Regions from separate parts of the Homo sapiens genome. Here regions 1, 2, 3, 4 and 5 are each linked to region 6. The links are contacts of gene promoters, found by promoter capture Hi-C in blood cells and fetal thymus (Javierre and others, 2016). All regions are on one chromosome and are shown on one strand. Each heading gives the region's core, a stretch centred on a gene start or on the middle of the fragment in contact. The rest is flanking DNA. Distances are from core to core; before and after follow the strand shown.

The links. The method cuts DNA at HindIII sites, captures the fragments that hold promoters and counts their contacts. A CHiCAGO score of 5 or more calls a contact.
Region 1: a fragment that was not itself captured here is called in contact with the fragment with the promoter of PDS5B in region 6 in 1 of 17 cell types (total CD8 T cells); the score reaches 6.5 in total CD8 T cells.
Region 2: a contact is called between the fragment with the promoter of B3GLCT here and the fragment with the promoter of PDS5B in region 6, in 1 of 17 cell types (non-activated CD4 T cells). The highest score is 5.1, in non-activated CD4 T cells.
Region 3: a contact is called between a fragment that was not itself captured here and the fragment with the promoter of PDS5B in region 6, in 11 of 17 cell types (naive CD8 T cells, naive CD4 T cells, neutrophils and 8 more). The highest score is 12.4, in naive CD8 T cells.
Region 4: a contact is called between a fragment that was not itself captured here and the fragment with the promoter of PDS5B in region 6, in 1 of 17 cell types (neutrophils). The highest score is 5.3, in neutrophils.
Region 5: a fragment that was not itself captured here is called in contact with the fragment with the promoter of PDS5B in region 6 in 1 of 17 cell types (neutrophils); the score reaches 5.0 in neutrophils.

Annotation. Positions count from the first base shown.
Region 1 is chr13:33,706,538-33,710,241 of GRCh38, reverse strand. No RefSeq gene overlaps it. Among named protein-coding and RNA genes, the nearest start is that of RFC3, 110 kb to the left of the region's middle. The HindIII fragment of the contact is 2,990 bases long and covers 298-3,287 here.
Region 2 is chr13:31,198,696-31,202,353 of GRCh38, reverse strand. B3GLCT (beta 3-glucosyltransferase) reads right to left here and starts at 2,379. Exons shown (of 15, transcript NM_194318.4): 1 at 2,200-2,379. The coding sequence starts at 2,269. RefSeq lists silencers at 1,419-1,668, 1,729-2,628, 2,679-2,738. The HindIII fragment of the contact is 2,637 bases long and covers 1,283-3,658 here.
Region 3 is chr13:33,728,023-33,731,476 of GRCh38, reverse strand. No RefSeq gene overlaps it. Among named protein-coding and RNA genes, the nearest start is that of RFC3, 88 kb to the left of the region's middle. The HindIII fragment of the contact is 6,126 bases long and covers 1-3,454 here.
Region 4 is chr13:33,746,797-33,750,216 of GRCh38, reverse strand. No RefSeq gene overlaps it. Among named protein-coding and RNA genes, the nearest start is that of RFC3, 70 kb to the left of the region's middle. The HindIII fragment of the contact is 4,481 bases long and covers 1-3,420 here.
Region 5 is chr13:33,839,546-33,843,124 of GRCh38, reverse strand. It overlaps a transcript of RFC3 not described here. Among named protein-coding and RNA genes, the nearest start is that of RFC3, 23 kb to the right of the region's middle. The HindIII fragment of the contact is 4,422 bases long and covers 1-3,552 here.
Region 6 is chr13:32,584,493-32,587,974 of GRCh38, reverse strand. PDS5B (PDS5 cohesin associated factor B) reads right to left here and starts at 1,523. Exons shown (of 35, transcript NM_015032.4): 1 at 1,382-1,523. PDS5B-DT (PDS5B divergent transcript) reads left to right here and starts at 1,530. Exons shown (of 3, transcript XR_001749808.1): 1 at 1,530-1,598; 2 at 2,053-2,171; 3 at 2,406-2,957. RefSeq lists an enhancer at 419-478 and silencers at 709-958, 1,379-1,458, 1,469-1,838. The HindIII fragment of the contact is 4,434 bases long and covers 1-3,482 here.

The DNA.
Region 1 (3,704 bases), core at 543-3,042, 1.1 Mb before region 6:
CTATAAAGATTATAGTTTGCAAAACAAGCACACTGATTTTTAGAGAAGGGAGAAAGAATAGACTTAACAATCCTCCATATTTTCCAAACACAATTTTGCATTAAGCAATCTTCTGGACCTATGTGAAAGTTATTCATCAGAATATTTGCATTTTTATTTTTTGCTCTTTTTATATATCTTGTGACTATATAATATACCTGATGTCAGAAGAAAATTCTGCTTTGTGTGGTTCACAGCAACTTTTCCCCAGAGGAACTTGCAGGACTTTCTAGATCTAATGTGTATAGCCAGCAAGCTTTCTGTTACGTTGTAAAGTGGAATAATATGTAAACATCATTAACACCTTTTTCATTCATGCACCCAGCTGTATTTTCATTTCCTTGATTTATTAGATATAGTGTTCACTTTTATGGTCTCCATTGTCTGAAAATAAAAGGACAATATAAAAACACAGAAACAACATTATAGAGTTTTTCTGTCTTCTAGTTTCTTTATTTAATCAAACCAGTGCTAAAATGGATCATTTAACTATTAGCAGCTTCTAGAAAAATATAAATACATAATTTTTTTTTCTGTCCTATACTAAGTTGTAGATCTTGTCATGCTGTGATATATACTCTTCTCCAAGGTATGATTAAGGAGTTCCTTCATTAAAAAATTAATTTTTCCAGAGTGAGATCACCAAGATGGTAAAATAGAAAGTAAACCATGGCTGGGCGCAGTGTCTCATGCTTGTAATCCCAGCAGTTTGGGAGGCCAAGGCAGGCGGGTCACTTGAGATCAGGAGTTTGACACCAGTCTGGCCAACATGGTGAAATCCCATCTCTTCTAAAAATACAAAAAATAGCTGGGAGTGGTGGCATACCTGTAATCTCAGCTACTCAGGAGGCTGAGGCCGGAGAATCACTTGAACCCAGGAGGCGAAGGTTGCAGTGAGCTGAGATCACACCACTGCACTCCAACCTGGGTGACAGAGCTAGTCCCCGTTTCAAAAAAAAAAAAAAAGAAGGTAATCCATTTATCGCCCCCAGAATATGAAGAACTGTATACCCATCCACAGTCAAAAGTCTCTCTATGGGAGCCTCAGGATGTAGGTAGGAGTTTGTGAAATCACAGTGGAGCCCAAGACCTAGGAGAGTTGTTTTGAGACTACAGACTGACATCTAGTTGGCAGATCTACCCTGGCACACTTGTTTCTGGGTTCAAGCCCATAAATAGCCTAGTCTCCCAAGGGGCTTGGTTATAGCTTCATTTAGCCTTGAGTCTACAACCAAAACCATCTTCCCAGGCATCCAGAAGAAATCATGCACACTAATGCCTTGGTGGAAAGAATTGTTGGTTGGCAGACTGACATCAGTCTCAGCAGTGAACCTGAAAGTTGTCCTGAGGGGCTGCCCCAGGCTTCCCCAGCTGAGGTCCCAGCTCAGAGCTACAAGAGGACCCAGAGGGAGTCGTAAATCCTATATCACCTATATATCCCTGCCTCAGGGTTTGAGTCTCCCTGATGGGCTCACCAACCTCTAACCCACAGTAGATCTCAAGGGGACCCAGTGTCAGCTCCAGCCCCTCTCACTGCAGTGAGGGAACTATCCCATCTGTGCTGAGATCTGCTGGGAGATATGTAACTACCTGCACCAATGACATGGGCTCTCCAGTCTCTGTCCTACAGAAGATCGTGAGGGCCCAGTCTCAGCTCTGGCCCTTCTTGCTGCAGTCAGGTAACTATTCTGTCTGTGCAGCATCCTGGTAGGAGACAGGTGCCCCTCTGGAACAACAAGACTGGGCTCTCTGGCCTCAGTCTCATAGCAGATCTTGAAGGGGCCCAGTCTCAGCTCTTGCCATTCTCACTGAAGTTGGGGAATAATCTTATCTGTGCTGAGACCTGCTGGAAAACATGTACCTGTATGGGCAAAAAAGAGATTTTCCAGCCTCTGTTTCACAGGAAATCTTGAGGGGCCCAGTTCAGCTTCAGCCCCTTCTGATGAAATCAGGGAATTATACCATATGTTCAGAGAACTGTTGGAAGATGCATCTTTATCTAAGCCAATGTAACAAGCATGCCATCCTCCATCCAGAAGAGATCCTGAAGTGGTATAGTCTCAGCTCTGGCCACTTCTGCTGCAGCTGGGGAACTATCCTATGTTTGAGAGAACTTGCTGGGTGATGCATACCCCTCTGAGACAAAACAAGGCTCTCTAGCCTCTGTCTAACAGCAGATATCAAAGTGGCCCAGTCTCAACTCCAGTCCTTTTCACTGCAGTAAGGGACCCATTTTCTCTCTGCCGAGACCTGCTGGGAGGGACACATGTCTAGGTCACCAGGACAGTCTTCTGGACTCAGGTCCCTGACCAGCACTCCCATACAGCTCCAGTACTTCTCTGGGTCTTTGTCAGGTCCACGTGGGCCAGAAAGCTACATCAACCTTGGAGCCCCTGTGAGATTTGCAACAAGCCTGGACTTAGAATATCTCTAGTGCTGAGACAGCTGCAGTGGTCAAAGGCTCAGGGAACAAAACAGTCAGTTGCCCAACAGTCCCTTGAAGGCCCTCTGAAGAAGGGCAGACAGAAACAAAGCTAGATTACAAAGACTAAAATAAATAACGGATCCCTCAATGTGCAGACTTTCACAAGCATGAAGAACATTCAGGGAAATATGACCTCACCAAACAGACAAAATAAGGTGCCAGAAGGCCAGGTGTGGTGGCTCACACCTGTAATATCAGCACTTTGGGAGGCCAAAACAGGAGAATTGCTTGAGCCTAGGAGTTTGAGACCAGCGTGGGCAACATAATGAAACCTCATCTCTACAGATAATTAAAAAAATTAGTTGGGTGTGCTGGCATGTGTTGTGGTCCCAGCTACTTGGGAAGTTGAGTCAGGAGGATTGCCTGAGCCTGGGAGTTCAAGGCCACAGTGAGCTGAGATCAAGCTATAGCATTTCATCCCGAGTGAGAGAGTAAAGCCCTGCCTCAAAAAAGAAAATGATAAAGATAAAAATGTGGGATCTCTCAGACAAAGAACTCAAAAAAATAGCTGTATTAAGGAAGCTCAGCAAACTTCAAGAACACACAAAGATTCAATTCAGAAATTTATCACAAAAATTAACAGAGAGATAAAATGTTTTTTGAAAAATTCTGAAGCTGAAAAATGCAATGCATGAAATTTAAAAATGCAATAGAAAGCATCAAAGCAGAATTGATCAAACAAAAAAATCAGTGAGGTAGAAGACAGAGTATTTAAAAATACACAGTCAGAGGAGAAGAAAAATAAAAAGGAAAGAACAAAGCTTACAGGATCTATGGGACAATATCAAGAGGGCAAATATTTGGGTTCTTGGAGTTAAAGAAGGAACCAAAGAAGAAAAGGGGTAGAAAGTTTATTCAAAGAAATAATAACAGAAAACTTTCTAAATCTGAAGGAGAATAAATATCCAGGTACAGGAAGGTCAAATGTCACCAATCAAATTCAACCCAAATAAGAATACCCTAAGACATAATTAAACCCACAAAAGTCAAAGAGAGGATCCTGAAAGCAGTGAGAGAAAATAAACAAATAACATATAAGGGAGATCTGCTATGACTGGACACAGATTTCTCAGCAGAAACCCTACAGACCAGGAGAGAGTGGAACAATATATTCAGAGTGCTAAAAGAAAAAAAAGAAAACAAATTGTCAACCAAAAATACTGTACACCGCAAAGCTAGC
Region 2 (3,658 bases), core at 1,130-3,629, 1.4 Mb after region 6:
ACCTGGAGGCCTGACTCAATCTTCTCATTCTGAAACTGGTGCCAGACTTTAGAACCAAAGTTGCAGTGAACCGTGTCTGTATATGCATGTGGGTTTAAAAGAAATTTTCTATATTGACTTTTCTCTAAAAATATAAACAAATATGCTCTAGTTTGTGGGGAAACTAAACTATATAGTCAGGCCAATCTTATATGGGAATATTTAAGGTATTTATAAACTATCAAGATTGTTCACATGTGACAGAACGCCTGTCACATTCTGTTTCAGCAAGATTCCAAGAACATCGTAAGTGGGGACATCTTTATACGTGTCGGTGCCCTTCCCCTAAATCGAAGCAGAGCTCCATAAAAGGTATTCATGATTCACTTCAGACCTCGAAGAATACAGCCTCCCGTCTGTGCCAACCCATGAAAGCCAGTTCCCAAAGGCCAAATGTCTCACAGGGACCTTTTAATGCATTTTATGTCTTATTTATTGTGCTTATCTGACAACTTCACAAGGCTAATAGACATCTCTAAAAATGTGTTGACATCTTAGTGCATTCTGAATGTCCTTCAGTGTATTATCAAATTTGGACAGTGCAAATATTCCCCTGGGGGTAATAAAAAATAGACACAGCAATACAAATGTGCATTTCAGCCCATATGTTGTATATATTATATACAAATATTATACCCCCAGTACAGCATTATAAAGTGCAGTGCTATAAATAGAATACCAATTTCAGCTACCACCCACCCATTTGGTTAGTTGCAAAACATCCAGGCAACAAGCCAACTGATGCAGCCAGGAGTCACCCAGTCGCTTTCCCAAACCTCCAACCTCCCTTTCTCCCAGGGCTGCCACCCAGCAATGCCCTTCTTCCACTGAAGCCGATTCCAGCCAAATTCAGTCGCTCCCCAAGACCAACTACAGCCTTCTCTGCCGGAGGTGCCCTAATATTTTTAATTACACTGCTGCCTAATTAATCATGCATGTAAACAATTACCAACTAATCTTGCTCTTTTCCCACACTTACTGAGCGCCTATAGAAATGCCAGAAGTACACAAATGCAGCAAATTAATCCTTATTCAGAGAGCTTAAATACAAATAAAAACAGGCTGTCAAGGTTCCGGTGGGCTAACAAGAGCAGTGCGCAATAACGCTACGTCTTTTCCTAAACTGCACCATTCTGCCATTACTAAAAAATCTGAAATCATTGCCTTTTCACACCAGCAAGTCTGGGTTAGAGGACAAAAACTCTGTAGCAGTCTGAAAAAAAAATAATTTTTCGCTCAAGCTTTCAAAGTTGAACAAATCTGATCATGAAAGTCAATTACAAGGCTGCTTTTTTTTTTTTTTTAACTTTTATCACATCGTTTTAAGATAAAGGGGGGAAATGCCCTTGCGAGGAGAAAAGAAATAAAAAAGAATGGGCATTACAGCAGCAGGAGACCGGGCAAGCACTGCTCTGCTCGCAGACGTGTCCCCTGATGTCCCCAGCGGAGACCCGAGACAGGAGCAAGCCTCCCCGCCGCGCCAGCTCCCGCGGAGGCCCAGCGGGCGCCCCTGTCCTCCTCCGGGTCGGAATCCGGGAAGGGCTGGCGCCGAGCTGGCCGCTTATCCTCAGGGGCCAGGGCACGTCCCGAAGGCCCTGCGGAGGGGCGCGCGGACACCGGGACCGCAGTCCTCGCCCCCGGGGGTCGAACAGGAGCCGCGGGGCCTCGAGGGCCGCCTCGCCGGCTCCCGTCCAGCCTCCCGCCCGGCGCGGGGCGCGCAGGACGGCGGAGCGCGGGCGGAAGGCAGGGGGGCGGGACCGCCGCCGCCGCCACTCGCGCTGTTGCAAAGTTTCTTCGGTGGCACAGTTCCTGCGCGCTTCCTGTGGGGGCGGCTGCTGCGCCCTCGCCGCCCCGTCGCCCGCCGGTTCGGGGCGGCAGAGGCTGGGAGACGCGAGTCTGGGGCCGGGGCGGCAGCGGGGACCCAAGACCGAAAGGGGCCGAGCGGGCACGCCTCGGGTCCCGGGCCCGGGTCCCACCTGGGCGCCGCGAGAGGGCGCTGCTGACGGCGCGGCGCGGCGGGGACCGGACGGCGGGACGCGCGCGCCGGCGGGGCAGGGCTGGGCCGCCCTGCGCCTCCCTCCCCGCGCCGACCGGGGCACGGGCGACTGTGCCCGCGAACCCCACGCCTCGCCCTTGCGCGCCTGGCCGCCCGCTACTTACCCAGGGAGCAGGTGAGGAGCGCGAGCAGCGCCGGCGGCGCGAGCAGCCACCAGCAGGCGGGCGGCCGCATCCTGGCGGCGGAGGCTGAGCGCCCTACCTGGGCGCGGGGAAGGGAGACGCGCGGGGAGCGGAGCTGCGCCGCTGCCGCCGCCGCCCTGCCGCCGCGGCTGACCCTTCTCTGCCGGCTCCCCTCCTCCCTCCGTCTCCGCCGCGCCATCGCCGGCCGCGCCCTCTGGCGGCCGGGAGCGGGAGCACCCCTGTGCGCGCTTCCAGCGTCTGCCGGGCTGGCGGCTGCGGCTGGTGTCCGGCCCGACGGGCTGCTGCGGTAGAGGTGGCCGCGGCTCTGCCCTCACGGCGCCCTCCTTCGAGGCGTCTGACCTCTGCCCCCTCCAGCCACCAGCCTCCACCCCTCCTCTTCCTTTCTCCTCTGCGTCCCTCCTGACCTAGGCCGCGTCCCCTGCCTTCATGCCCTCCCACCTTACCGCGTCACCCCCATCAGTAGTTCTACCTGTGAAGTGGAAGCGAGCAGTAATCACTTTTCCTCCCTGCTAATGTATTATCTGCTGTGGAAAAAAAAATGTAATCAATAGTTCAACTCTTAATATTGTTGGCACCAATGCTCTACTTTGATGAAGGTGTTTTTAATCAGCTCAACTAATTTACTTAATATCCCCTTTAAATGGAATTTGGCCAATAGCCTAGGTCTGGGATTTGGCTTTTAAACAAGTTTGTGTAAATGTAATTTTCTATAAATGTAATTTTAAGTGTTCACCATAATGGAAGAGAGTGGGTGTAATTTTATTCAAAATATAAAAATTAATTAAACTGGAATACAGAGAAGTGGAGCAATGTGGGAGTGCCTCCTGTTCCCGCAGGACTGCGAAGGGCTTTCCTCCCCAGCCCGGTAGAGTGGTGGCCCTGATAGGGGACTGGTCCTGTTGTGTTGTGTGGTGCACTGAAGGGGAAAGCATTACAAGTAAGAACTAGAGGCTCCCTTCAGTGGTTCTGAACTCCTTCGTGCCTCCCTCAAGCCTTGGCTCACTTCTGTTTCCAAGGAAGTGCACAGGACCAAGTGCTTTTCCCAGCCCTAGTTTAGCCCATGACCTCTTGAAGGCAGTTTCTATGTTTTCCTTCATATTTACTCATTTGTTGGATACCTACTATGTGACTGCAACTCTGCTAAGCACCCTAGGAATGCCAGTATCTTTCACATGGACATACAACATTCACCTACTTGCTAAACATTTAAGGAGGAGGAGGCCCTGGGAGTACAAGTAGGATGGCCCTGGGAATACAAGTAGGATGTCCTGGAGACAGAGAAGCAGGTGCTGAATAAACATTTGTAGGCTTGAGCCCTCTTAACTTGAATGCGTTTAGGGGACTTAGGCTCTAATGCATTAGGACAGTATTGTCTGCAATTGTGCAATACCTGCTGGGATTGTTTTGAAAAGGAGGCCTG
Region 3 (3,454 bases), core at 617-3,116, 1.1 Mb before region 6:
GGCCAAGCCTTAAGGGGCTCCAGTACTTAAAAGTTGAGTAGAAGATTATGTGTTAGAAGAACTAGAAATAGTTTTCAAGGATAACTAGTGTGGTACTGTATCCCAAAAGCCAAGGAGATGCAGAGTAGCAAACAACGGAAGTCATCAGAATAGTCTAATAAGTCAGCACAGGGCGGTGGCTCACACCTGTAATCCCAGCACTTTGGGAGGCCAAGGCAGGTGGATCACTTGAGCTCAGAAGTTCAAGACCAGCCTGGCCAACATGATGAAACCCCGTCTCTAATAAAAGTACAAAAGAAATTAGCCGAGCATGGTGGTGCACACCTGTAGTCCCAGCTACTCTGGAGGCTGAGGCAGTAGAATCGCTCGAACCTGGGAGGCGAAGGTTGTAATGAGCAGAGATCACGCCACTGCACTCCAGCCTGGGCGATAGAGTGAGACTTGGTCTCAAAGAAGGAGGAGAAGAAAAAAAGAATAGCCTAATAAGTCAAATAAAAAAGGACTAAAAACATCTTTGTGATTTAGGGACATGGAGGTCCTCAGTGATCTTAGCCAGAGCATTTAGAGAGTGAATAGCATAAGTGTAGTTATTAGTGCTTGAGGGCTGAGGAAGCTCAGAGTGTAGATAACTCTTTTGAGTGGAGTGAGTAACTGTCCAGTGTTGCCTAAGACAGTGCTGGTTTGGCCTGTTGTCCTGGAGAAACAGCTCCCTCTTCGAGTCTCCAACGTCGCCTGGTTTGAATGATAAATTATACATCATCTATATGAAGGGTGAGGAAAGGGAGGCAGCTGGAGGAGAAATTGGCATCGCATAAAAATCCTGAGCACTGTGATACAGCAGGGTGGCGGCATGCAGCTGTGAGTGAACCCCCATTTGAAGGTGGAGAGCCCTAAGTACAATTTTTAGTTCTACCATTTATTGGCTGTGGGACCTTGGGCAGGTTTATTTAAGCTCTCTGAGGCTAAAAGGACTTAAATTTCAGGGTAGAGTAAGGATTTTGTGTCAAGTGCTGACATATCATGCTCAGCAAGCATGAGTTCCCTTCTTTTCGTTCCCTCTCACTTGTTATTTGGCCCATGTTGTAATGGTTCTGCATCATTTCCTTCCCCACCTTCTACCCCCCACTGCTCCCCTCTTCACCCTCAAGTATCTCACACCCTTTGTGACAGAGGAAGTTCTTATTTCTATGTTTCTAGTGAAGCACTCTGTGTGTGTTAACATGTCTCTCTCTAGAAAATAGTTGGTGACCTTGCCTCCCTGCTCCATTATCCTAGCTGGGAAAATGTACTGATGCCCAACTCATTCATGTCAGTACATTTCAGCTAGCACTGATTGTTGCCTGCACCCCATGCTAGAAATGCTGAGAAATTCCACTGAAGTGTATGATATGATTCTTTTTGTCAAGAGCAGTCTCTTTCAGAAAGACAAATACTGTTCATAACATTCTTGCTACTTCCATTCCCACTACTTCGGCAGCTCTCCACCATTTATGGAGCACTTAGATACTCTGGGCTAGGCCTCTAGCATATGTGACAGGAAAGTTTTTAGCTCGTGCAAGGTATTGTTATAATGATTCCATTTTACAAATGAGGAAAACTGAAGTTTTTGTTTTGTTTTGTTTTGTTTTTGAGACGGAGTCTCACTCTGTCACCAGGCTGGAGTGCAGTGGCACAATCTCGGCCCACTGCAACCTCTGCCTCCCTGGTTCAAGTGATTCTCCTGCCTCAGCCTCCCAAGTAGCTGGGACTACAGGCGCCTGCCACCACGCCCAGCTAATTTTTGTATGTTTAGTAGAGACGGGGTTTCACCATGTTGGCCAGGATGGTCTCAATCTCTTGACCTCATGATCCACCTGCCTCGGCCTCCCAAAGTGCTAGGATTACAGGCATGAGCCACCGCTCCCGGCTGAAAACTGAAGTTTTAAGAGGTTAGGCAAACTGCTCAGAATTGCACAGCTCATAAGTATCTAAACTGGAGTCTGAATTTTGATCCATTTGACACCGAAGCCCTTAACCTTTCCATTTCTCAATAGAACAAAAAACAAATGAAATGTCATCTCGACACTTTACAATTTAGACAATATGCCATTTATATAGATTGTTTAAAACTTTTCATTAGAAAACAAAACAAAATCAATTTATGAAAGGGTAGACTTGACTCTTATCATGGGTCCAGATAAATGGTTCACCATTAATAAAGTCAAAGTGTGCACTCACTGAGCCGACATTCAGTACTAGGAGTACTTGCATAGCCTAGCAGGATTTTGGTCAGGACATTTTTTATGGGTGATTGTCTAAGATGGGCAATGTGTTCTACCACTTATTAAACTAGAAATGCTCCCCAAGGATTAGATTATAGATTTCCAGAGTCTCTTCTCTCCTCAGCATTGACTGTTTAAAGCAAATTTTCACTTAAATGCCCTTGAAGTCAAGTTGGACAGATTCAGTCCTGCCATATTCCAATAGCTCCATGTTCCCTCGACATGAACTCTCAGCTTTACAAGTACAAACAGGTGCTCAGGGTTCAAAATGACAGAGTTCACCGCAGTTTCCCAATAGCACATTATTCGTTTTCAGTTCCTGTTTCTAGCACTGAAATGGCACAGCCTTTAGCATGATTTAAACTGCCTGCTTAGAACCTAGCTGAATAATATTTGACTTTCAGCACTGCTGAAAGGATACTTAAAGCACAGACCTGGCATCTGTGTCATCTTCTGCAAATCAAGGTTGATTAATAACAAAATCACCTCGCCCTGGCATCCTGCCTTTCATCTGAGCAAGACTGAAGCTATTCCTGGAAAAAATCCAGCTTTCTTTTGCTACAGTCCTGAGACATGCCAACTGACACAGCAGGGGCAGGAAGGAAGGTCAAAGTTAGCATTTGAGTTTGGGCTGTGGGGAGGGAGGAGACAAGATGGCAACTGGTCCTTAAGAAACCCAGTGTGAAGGTTCTGTACGGTCAGGGCCCAGGGCTGACATCATGGGTGGGGCCACCATCATGCTTTCTCTGTCCAGCCAAGCTGGCACCCTTTTTATGGGCGAGCCTTCCTTCTGGAAATTGTTGATGTCATTAGTGGGTGTGGTTTCAGGCACTTTTCCCGCCTTTCTCCTGAAAACAAGTAGGTTATTCTTCTACATGAGAGAGTTCAATCTGTGCTCCATGGAAACTTGCCATGGCTCTAAGGACTTTTGAAAATGTGGAGTTTAGACTACGGGAATTTTTGTAGAGGAATTTTTTTCCTTCACAATTTACATTAAGAGGAAAAATATTCTGTCACTACTTTCTCCTAATTTTCACCTCACTGTGTCTTACAGCATTGCTGCCTACCTAAGAACACTGCAAGAATGTGCTAGAAAGTAGTAAAACCCATGCAAAGAAGATGCTTTGTGTTGTACTTGACATATATTGGACTCACTTGTATTGCAGTGCTTTCAACTAAATGTTTTCCTTCAT
Region 4 (3,420 bases), core at 519-3,018, 1.2 Mb before region 6:
ACTCTTTGAAATAAACTGACAGGCAGATTAACAGGAGAAAAAATATACAAACTTATTAATTTTTAATTTCATGTGCATGGGGATATCACAGGAAAATAAGGTGAACACCCAAAGAAATGGTAAGGTTTGGGAGCTTGTATACCATCTTAATAGGGGAAGAGGTGTGGGGAGAGGTAGGTCACATGGGAGAGACCAAATGATTTTTAAGAAAGAAGAATGGGCTTTTAGAAGCATAAATATGATAATGTGATCACTTGTGACAAAATTTGCCTAGGTGTGGTGTCAATTTCCAGTGTCCTCTTTTTTTTTTTTTTTGAGACAGAGTCTTGCTGTGTCACCCAGGCTGGAGTGCAGTGGTACGATCTCCGCTCACTGCAACCTCCGCCTTCCGGGTTCAAGCAATTCCGCCTGCCTCAGCCTCCCAAGTAGCTGGGATTACAGGCACCCACCACCATGCCTAGCTAATTTTTTTTATTTTTTAGTAGAGACAGAGTTTCGCCATGTTGGCCAGGCTGATCTTGAACTCCTGACCTCGGGTGATCCGCCCTGTCCTCTCTTTTAATAAGCGTCAATCTTCTTCTGTTGATGAAATTCCCAGGGAGGGGATTAATGACAATGGAGTCAATTTTGAAGGATCTGTCTTTAGGCAGATAGGAGAGTTCAGAGAAAGCCTCTCATTGCATTTGCTGCTTTTCAAGTGCCCTCAGCTCAAAATAATAAATATAGTTGTCCCTTGGTATCCCTGGGGATTGGTTGCAGGACCCTTGCGAATACCAAAATTCACCAATGCTCAAGTTCCTTATATAAAATGGTGTAGTGGCCAAGCACAGTGGCTCATGCCTATAATCCTGGCACTTTGGGAGGCTGGGGCAGGAGGATCACTTGAGGCCAGGAGTTTGAGATTAGCCTAGGCAACATAGCAAAACCCCATCTGTACAAAAAAATTTTAAAAAATATCTGGACATGGCTGCACATGCCTGGTGTCCCAGCTACTCAGGAGGTTGAGTTGGGGGAGGGTGACTTGAGCCCAGGAGATCATGGTTGCAGGGAGCCATGATTGTGCCACTTTACTCCAGCCTGGGCAACAGAGAAAGACTTCCATCTCTTTTAAAAAAACTAAATATATATACACATATTTTATATATATATATATACACACACACACACACACACACACACACGTATATGTAGGATATATGCAAATACTATACCATTTTATTACATTTATATATACACATATTATATATACACACACATATATATACGTGTGCGTGTGTGTGTGTGTGTGTGTGTGTGTGTGTGTGTGTATATAAAATATGTGAGTCCCTGGAGAGGGCCCCACCCTGGAGCTGAAAAGCCTGATACCTTGGCCCAAAGTGAGAGCTTACATCCATGTTTCCCCACTTGAATGTTGCCTTTTCCAGAATCACCCATGGCCCACCCCATAAAATCCCCAGACTCAGCCAGCAGAGAGGAGGATAAGTAGTTGGACATTGGAGACTATGGTTGGATGTTGGAGAGAAGCAACTTGATTTCAGAGGGACAGCTTGATGGCATATCTTCAGAGAGGAGTCTGGCCAGACATGGCTGGACTCCAGGGGAAGATTATCTTCCCACTTTGTCCCCTTTTCAGCTCCCCTTCCCACTAAGAGCCACTTTCATTGGCAATAAATTCTCCTGTGTTTGCCATCTTCAGTTCATTCCTGCAACCTCATTCCTTCTGGATGCTGGACAAGATCTCGGGTGCCATGAGTGTAGGTGCAAAGGGCTGTCACACTGACCCTCCACTGAGCTGTTAACACTTAAGCCACCCACAGGTGGCAAGGCTAAAAGGGCACTGTAACACTCCTTCTGAGTCTACAGGAGTCACGGGCACCTCCACCCCCAGATGCCACTACAGGGCTGGTACAGAGTTTGTACTTGCCAGTGCCCAAAAGCACTCACCCTGGCTCCTGTACCTGCTCACCTGCCTGCTCCCCATCCCAAGAGAGGTGGAGTGCAGTAGGTCAAGTGAGTAGAGTTTGCTCCTGCCAGTGCCCATGCACTCCAGTTCCCACCCATGAAAATGTCAGGGAAATATCCTCCTTCATTAGGACCCCAAAATCACTACACTGATGGGAAAAGTCAAGCCAGGAACTGCTTTGGGCCAACCTGCCTCCCTTTCTATTCAAAGTCATTCCTATGCTCACTTAGATAAATGTATATCTGACTGCCTCCTTTGGAAAGGCTAATCAGAAACTCAAAAGAATGCAATCATTTATCTCTCACCTACCTATGACCAGGAAGCCCTCTCCCCACTTTGAGTTGTCCCGCCTTTCCAGATGGAACCAACGTACATTTTATATATATTGAATGATATCTGGTGCCTCCCTAAAATGTGACTGGACCACCTTGGGCACATGTTGTCAGGACCTCCTGAGGCTGTGTCATGGGCTTGCATCCTTAACTTTGCCAAAATAAACTTCCTAAATTGACTGAAACCTGTCTCAGTTATTTTGGGTTAACATGTGTGTGTATGCATGATAAAATGGTGATAAAATGGTATAGTATTTGCATATAATCTATATATATCCTTCCATATACTTTAAATCATCTCTAGATTAGTTATAATACCTAATACAATGTAAATGTTGCAAAAAGAGTTGTTACAGTATATTAGGTTTTTATTTGTATTATTTTTTATTATTGTTTTGTTGTTGCTGTTTTCTCTTTTTTGAATATGTTTTGATTTAAATTAGCTGAATACTTAGATACAAAACCCATGGATAAAGAGGGCTGACTGCATACCAAAACAGTATATTTTGGGGTAGCATATCCTGAACTCCTTGACAGTCATACTTTGGGGTAGTATATTCTGGACTCCAATAATACATATTTATTTCAGACTAACATAAGATACCAATAAACAAAAACAGAGAAATAAAAATAACTCATAATCCCATCACCCACAGATAAATACCATTATGTATATAGTCCCCAGGCCTCATTTCTTTTTTCCTAAGAAGGAAATGTGTACCATATTGTATGTTTTATAACCCGCTTTTCTTATTTCTCTCCATATATAGAAATATTCTGCCTTTACAACATTTTCAATATCTATTCCATAGTCCCTTGGAAAGATGTATGCTTTTATTCTACAAATCCCCTTATGTTGGACATTCCGTTTAGTTTCAATCTTCTAATATGATAAGCAATGCTGCAATGAACTTCTTTGTAGGTAAATATTAGGACAAATTAATGATTTATGCTGTTGCTTAGGATGTTTTAGAATTGCTGGTTTTAAAATATGCTAATTTTAATCCTTTTGGTATTTCCAATCTGCTTTATTTATTTATTTATTTATTTATTTATTTTTTGGAGATGGAGTCTCACTCTGTCACCCAGGTTGGAGTGCAGTGGTGTGATCTTGGCTCACTGCAA
Region 5 (3,579 bases), core at 92-2,591, 1.3 Mb before region 6:
AGAAAATTGCTGCCAAGAGTTGAGGTTTTTTTTGTTTTTTTGTTTTACTTTTTAAGGAATGTGTTTTGTGATTAAGTGCTATAATTTGGAAATAATATTTAATGTACTATTACTCAATTCTGATAAATCTCAGAGTGTAAAACAGCACTTAAAACTACAAGTTTCTGTTGTGATGTATACTGCACAACTACAAATCCCATGAACAAATTTTTAATTTATATGAAACATAAAATCATAGATTTTTAAAGAATGGCATAAAACACTGATTCACACATGGAAACCAGGGCCTTAGGTTAGAATCCTAGCTTCAAGACTTATACTGCCACTAACTGTTAATGGGCTTGCCCTCCCACTGTACAACTAAAAAACTGGACAAAATATATAAAGCAACCAGTAAGGTCAACTCTATACCATCATTCTGGCTTTCTGCCTGGAAGAAAGTGGCTGCGGGGTGGGAAAGAAAAACCTTCCTTCCCACCCTACATTTGGCTGCAGGGTAGGAAGGAAAAACCCAGGTAGAGAACTGTGATAACAGTGAGTTGAGGAAAAGGAGCAGAATTCAGAGAGGCTGAGGTGGCTGCCTATGTTGGGCAGAGATCTGGAAAGAAGGGAGTTACACAGAAAAGCACTCCTACGTTAAGAGTTGCCTTGTTATCTTTGGTTGATTACTAACACGCAAGTAGCAGATACAGTCTGGATCCACTGGACAAAGAGGGTTCACATCTTAGGTGGGATGGAGTAGGATGGTGGAAGATTAGATCGTATTACATTACTCAGAATGGCATGCAATTTGAAACTTACAAATTATTTCTGGATTTTTCTTTTTTTTTTTTTCCTGAGACAGGCTCTTGCTCTGTGGCCCAAGCTGGGGTGCAGTGGCACGATCATAGCCCATTGCAGCTTCAACTTCCTAGATTCAAGTAATCCTCCCACCTCAGCCCCACTAGCGGCTGGGCCCACAAGCACATACCACTACACCCAGCTAATTTTCTATTTTGTTTATCATTTGTAGAGACAGGGTCTCAATATGTTGCCCAGATCATCTCGGGCTCCTGGGCTAAGCAACTTTCCCGCCTCAGCCTCCCAAAGTGCTGGAATTACAGGCATGGTCACCGCACCTGGCCACATAATATTTTCAAATTGCAATTGACCATGGGTAACTAAAACCATGGAGAAAATAAAAACTGCAAGCTGAATAATTTCCAGAGCTCCCACAAGGCTGGAAGATATTTGAGTTCTGGTGACCCAGAATGGTTATACCCCAATGATCTCCAGGACATGCAGTAGAGACCCTAGAAATATCATGCCCCTATTTTAAAGCTAAATTAGGACTCAAGACTACGCCAGGCCTACTCCAAAAAAGTTTACAAACAAGCATGAAAAACAACAAGCTGATAATCAAATACAGTTGACCCTTCAACAATGCAAGAGTTAAGGGCATAGACCCCTATGCAGTCAAAAACCCCTGTATAACTTTTGACTCCCCCAAAATGTAATTACCAATAGTCTATTGTTGACTGAAAGCCTTACCAATAACATAAAGTCAACTCATTTTGTATATGTCTTATATACTGTATTATTATATAAGCTACAGAAAATATTGAGTGATATGGAAGAGAAATTACACCTACAGTACTGTACTGATACTTCAAAATGAATACACTGTCTGAAATTGAGGGCAACCACAGCTTTAGACCTCAATCTGTAAAGGTACCACATGGCATTTTAAATGAATACAACACTTAAGCTCACTGCAATACCAACAGGAGGTGGCTACAGAAGTATTCAGGCAGCATAGTATGTACTGTAATTTTATGCAGTTATGATTTAATACTGCACTCCCCAACCTTTTTAGCACCAGGGACCAGTTTTGTGGAAGACAATTTATCCATGGACCCCAGAAGGCTGGAGGAAGGGGTGGAGAAGGATGAAACTGTTCCATCTCAGATCATCAGGCATTAGAGTCTCATAAGGAGTACACAATCTAGATCCCTCACATGTACAGTTCACAACAGAGTTCCCACTCCTATGAGAATCTAATGCTGTTGCTGATCTGACAGGTGGTGGAGCTCAGGTGGTAATAGTCTCTGGTGCTCACTGGTTGCTCACCTCCTGCTGTGTGGCCCCAGTTCCTAACAGGCCACAGGGGGCTGAGGACCCCTGAATTTTACATTTGTTTACATTTCTCTTGGCTGTGAATGGCACCATGTATGGTCTGAGTTTGTGAAAGTTTTGATAAATTTTAACTTTTTGTACTAGATTTGTATATATTTTATCACAGTAAATGATGAAACAGACTAGTAGCTACACATATTTTAGGCATTTATGATGTACCTTTTTAAAATTTTAAAAGATATTTCTAGGTTATGCATTTTTCCATGAGTATTTTCAAATTAAGTCTCAAAAAAATTTTTTGTTTATTGAAAAAAAAACTACGTATAAATGGATACACACAGTTCAGACTTCTGTAGTTCAAGGATCAACTGTAATTGTCTGCCAAGACAAAGTCCAACAGTTAAAAAAAAACACACACAAAAAAAAGAATTCAGACACTTGATAATGTAACATGACAATGTAATAATGAGAGAGCCAGAATCCAATCCAAATTAATGCACATACAAAAAGGCAAGAAATCTAACCCACAACCAGGAAAAATATCAGTCAATAGAAACAGATCCAGAAATGACAGATATAATAAGCAGACAGACTTCAGAAGAGCTATTATAAATATGTTCAAAAGATTTAAAGAGAAACATAAAAACAATGAGAAATATAAAAAAGCAGCAAATGAAACTGCCAGAGCTGAAAACTTGAAGGAAACTATTCAAACTGTAGGACAGTGAGAAAAAAGCTAGGAAAAAGAGAGACTCTGTGACTTATGCAACACTACCAAATAACGATGTAATTAGTCTTAGAGGAAGGGGCAGAAAAATATTCAAAATCAGTTTTTCAAAATTTAATAAAATACAAAAGCCCATAAATCAAGGACTGCAACAAACCCAAAGTAGTGTAAAGCAAGATAAACACACACACAAATCGCACCAAGACGCTTCTTACTCAAACTGTTGGAAACTAGTCATAAAGAGAAGTTGGAAATCTTAAAAGCAGCCATAGTAGCAAAATAAAATTAAAAATATGATGACTACATATCTCTCTTCAGAAACAACACAACCCAGAAGACAAAACACAGATGGGGAAGAAAAACTGTCAAACTACAGTATTTAATCTGTATTTTGTATTTTGAAACCATCTGTATTTTGTCCATTGAAAATGCTTTCCAAAAGGAATGCAAAACAAAGACATTTTTAAGCCAAAAAACTCTTAAGATAATTCACCAGCAGACCTGCTTCACAAGAAATGATAAACTTTTTCGGGCTTTAAAATAAATGATGCCAGACTGAAATTTGAGTCTACAAAAGCAATGAAGAAATCAATCAGTGGATGGCTACTTCTACTAATGGAAACAGGAAGATATTGGGTGATTTCCCACTACAGTTAAGTAGAGAAGTGAACAAAATTGTCAAAAAACAACCAATTCAGTACACTGAAGCTTGATCAAAGTCACACAACAAATTGAAG
Region 6 (3,482 bases), core at 274-2,773:
TACGATTTATTTACAGCTCGCCTCCTGTATGTAAACACAACTTGAGTTTTTGAAGTTCATTAGGAAGATAGTATAGGATTACCCAACTCTCTCCACACCGCAGACCAACCCTCTAAATTAAGGCTATACCCAAAGTTTTCGAAACTATTTCATCAACAGGGTAGGATCAGTCTGGGCACCACTGCCCATCCATCACCTCTTATTAAAAGTACGAGAAGCACTTTCTTCGACATAAAAAAGGGTTAACCCTCGCTGGGGGAGAGAGGCTGTTGAAGACGCGCGTGGAGTGGGTGGGTAGCTGCTCTACCAACCCTTCCCGGAGCTCGCCCCGTCCGCGGCAAGGAACGCAGCAGCCTGCAGCTCCGAAGGCGAGGGGCGGCGTTTCTGGTTTCAGTCATTCGTCCAAAATAACTGTCGAGCTACTTAAGAGTTAGCTTTCACGTCTCTACCAAAAACCAACAGCAGTAGCAGCAACAACAACAAACAAGGTTTTTCTCCGGACCGAAAACTTTTAAAGTAACATTAAAATAACAGTGTAAAAACAATAACGAGTCACAATTGCACACCATTTTCCCCGCCGTTCCTTCTGAAAGGAAAGCTAGAACCCAGTTGTGGCCTGGGAGGAGTCCCTCCACGCCAGTGCTGGGCTCTTCCTCAACTGGCTGCTCGGGGACCACTCGGGGTGGCGCGGTGAGCGCGATTTCCCTCCGGCGAGCGGCGAGGGACAGTGCAAAAATGTCACGCTCAGCCCGTCCCCTGGCCCGAAGCGGAGGCCAGGCGGCGCGCGGGGACCCGGCGGCGGGGGCGAGAGCGCCCGCGGCCCCGACCCGCGGTCCCCGCCCGCCCCTCGCCCGGAAGGGGGAGAAGCCCGCCCGCGGGAGGATTCAACAGGAGCACCGCGCCGCCCGCCTGCCGCCCGGGAAACAGCCGCCGGCCGGCCGGGGCGCGGGGGGAGGGGCGCGGCGGCGGCGACGGCGGCGGCGGGAGGGCGCGGGCGGCCGGGCGGCCCCGAGACCCCCGCCCGCGCGCAAGGTCACCGCCCGCCGCCGCCGCCGCCCCGGCCGGGATCAGAGCGGCAAGTTTAATTTTCCAGAGGCTGCGGCAGAACCCGCGGCGTGGAGGCGCGCGCCGGCCGCGGGGCCCTCCCCACCCCCACCGCGCAGCCGGCCCGCGCCCCGCGACCCCCGCCCCGGGCCACCGCCAGGCAGCCACCCGCTGCAGCCCCCGATGCCGGGAGGCGAGTCGCGCCTGGCACCCAGGCGGGCGGCGCTTCAGCCCTGCCACACACACGCACACAGCGGCAGTGGCGGCCGCTGAAAAATGGAGCGCCGCAGCCAGAGAAGAGAGACATTTTCTTTCCGTTAACTGAATTGTTTCCTACCTCCGGGTTGCCGACTCGCTACTCCGCTCACTCCGGGGCTCTCCGGGATCCGCCGCCGCCGCCGCATCCAATCGCCTTCTCCCCCCCCCTCCCCTTCCGCAGCCAGCCCTGCCGTTCCTCCTCCTCTCCGCTTCAAAATGGCGCCAAGCGCTCTTCGGCGGCTGCTCCAATCGAACCGCCGCGGACAGCACCCGGGGGCAGGCAGAGCGCGGCATGGGTGCGCAGCGCCCCCTGCCGACCAGACGGCCCCGAGCGCGTCCGCCCTCCGAGCTCCACCCCGCCCCGTCCGCGCGCGCGCACGTCCCTCCTCAGCCCCGCCCCGTCCGCGCGCACGCAACCACACGGGCACGCCGCCGCGGGGCCCGCGAGAAGGGCAGCTGTCAAGGCGTCCACTACTCTTGCGGCTTCCTAGACCTCTACCGACAAAAACCACACCGATTGTTACGTAGCCCTATCTTTTTAGATAAAGGTTGGGAGATTTTTTTAAACCCTGACATTCAGCACAGGTGTTGTGATGGGTAAACAGAATTGGTATTATTAACTACTTTGCTCCTTACTTGTTAACTCTGACCTAGTCGTCTCGGAATGCCATACAAATAGTTTTCCTACACTTTACGTGTTATGTCTTTATTAAATCTCCCCGCTTTCCTAATTTGAGGAATTGTTTATAGGTGGTAGGCTGGCGGAGACAGAGTAATTGAGCCTGTGACGAAGCATTCCATTCCTTTGGCAGAATTGTCCTTATTAGAGGAAGAAATCATCTGGAGACCACAGGGACACATTCCAGGAGGTGGGTCTCCTCCCCTCTTCACCTCTAAGGGATGCCAGTCCCTCCTGCAGCTGTAGAGTGGGTTTAGCCTGGTCACCACAGCAGATCACCTACCTTGCGGGAAGGTTTCCTCCCCAGCCGGGTCCCTGCCAGAGCTGAAGAAGGGACTTCCTCCTCTTTTTACTTTAATACCATCCCTGCTGTAAGGAAGTTTCCCCTGATATGATGTATTTGGTTACTAGAATTTTGTTCCAGGGAGAATTTGTTTCAACAATGAACAAGCAAAGTGTGAATGAATGGATTACAGTAGGATACTTATCAACTGAAACAAAAGAGAGGTAATGCTGATATATAAACTAATGCTACTGTGTTAGAAAAGGTATGTACATCGGTATTCCATCGGACCCGGGCACCTAGAGATACTGAGACCTCTTCATTTCCATTTTTGTGGGATTCGCTGGACAATTCCGCCTCAGTCTCCTCCAGTGCTTGCTAGACCAATATGTTGTGTTACTGTATTCCTGTGTCCAAGATTTTGCCACTGAATACTCCAGGTTCTACCCATTTTATACATTCCTCGATGAAGTCTACTATGAGTTTTTTCTGCCCTCTTTTTAAAATTATCTCAGGAATTTTCTTATTTTACATCGTTGTTCCATCAACATAAATCTTGTATGGGAGAGTAGGATGTCTAGATCTAGAAAAACCTTTCCTCTTTGGTTGTTTTTATTATGTTTTTTACTTTATTTTCTTCAATTCCCAAACCTCCAAAGCCAGGAAGCCAGAAAGTTTCAGAAGAAAGCCAGGATGAAAGCAAGAATTTTTTTTTCTTTTTTCTTTCTTTTTTTTTTTTTTTTTTTTGAGATGGAGTCTTGATCTGTCGCCAAGCTGGAGTGCAGTGGCGCGATCTTGGCTCGCTGCAACCTCCCTCTTGAGTTCACGCAATTCCCCTGCCTCAGCCTCCCAAGCAGCTGGGACTACAGGCACACACCACCACTCTCAGCTAATTTTTTGTAATTCTTAGTAGAGACAGAGTTTCACCATGTTGGCCAGGATGGTCTCGATCTCCTGACCTCGTGATCTGCCTGCCTCAGCCTCCCAAAGTGCTAGGATTACAGGCGTGAGCCACCATGCCCGGCTAAGAGTTTTTGTATAAATTATTCAGTGCTCTTATCCCCATTATTTGACACCTGGAAGCCTCAGTAAATATTTTGTTGGATGTATGAATTGTTTAAGAATGTCACTCTACATCTTGTATATGGCAGTGAGTCCTGAAAGGGCTGAAGGTGTCACGTCAACTTTGTGAGCAGTTTTGCCAGTTTCACCATTAAC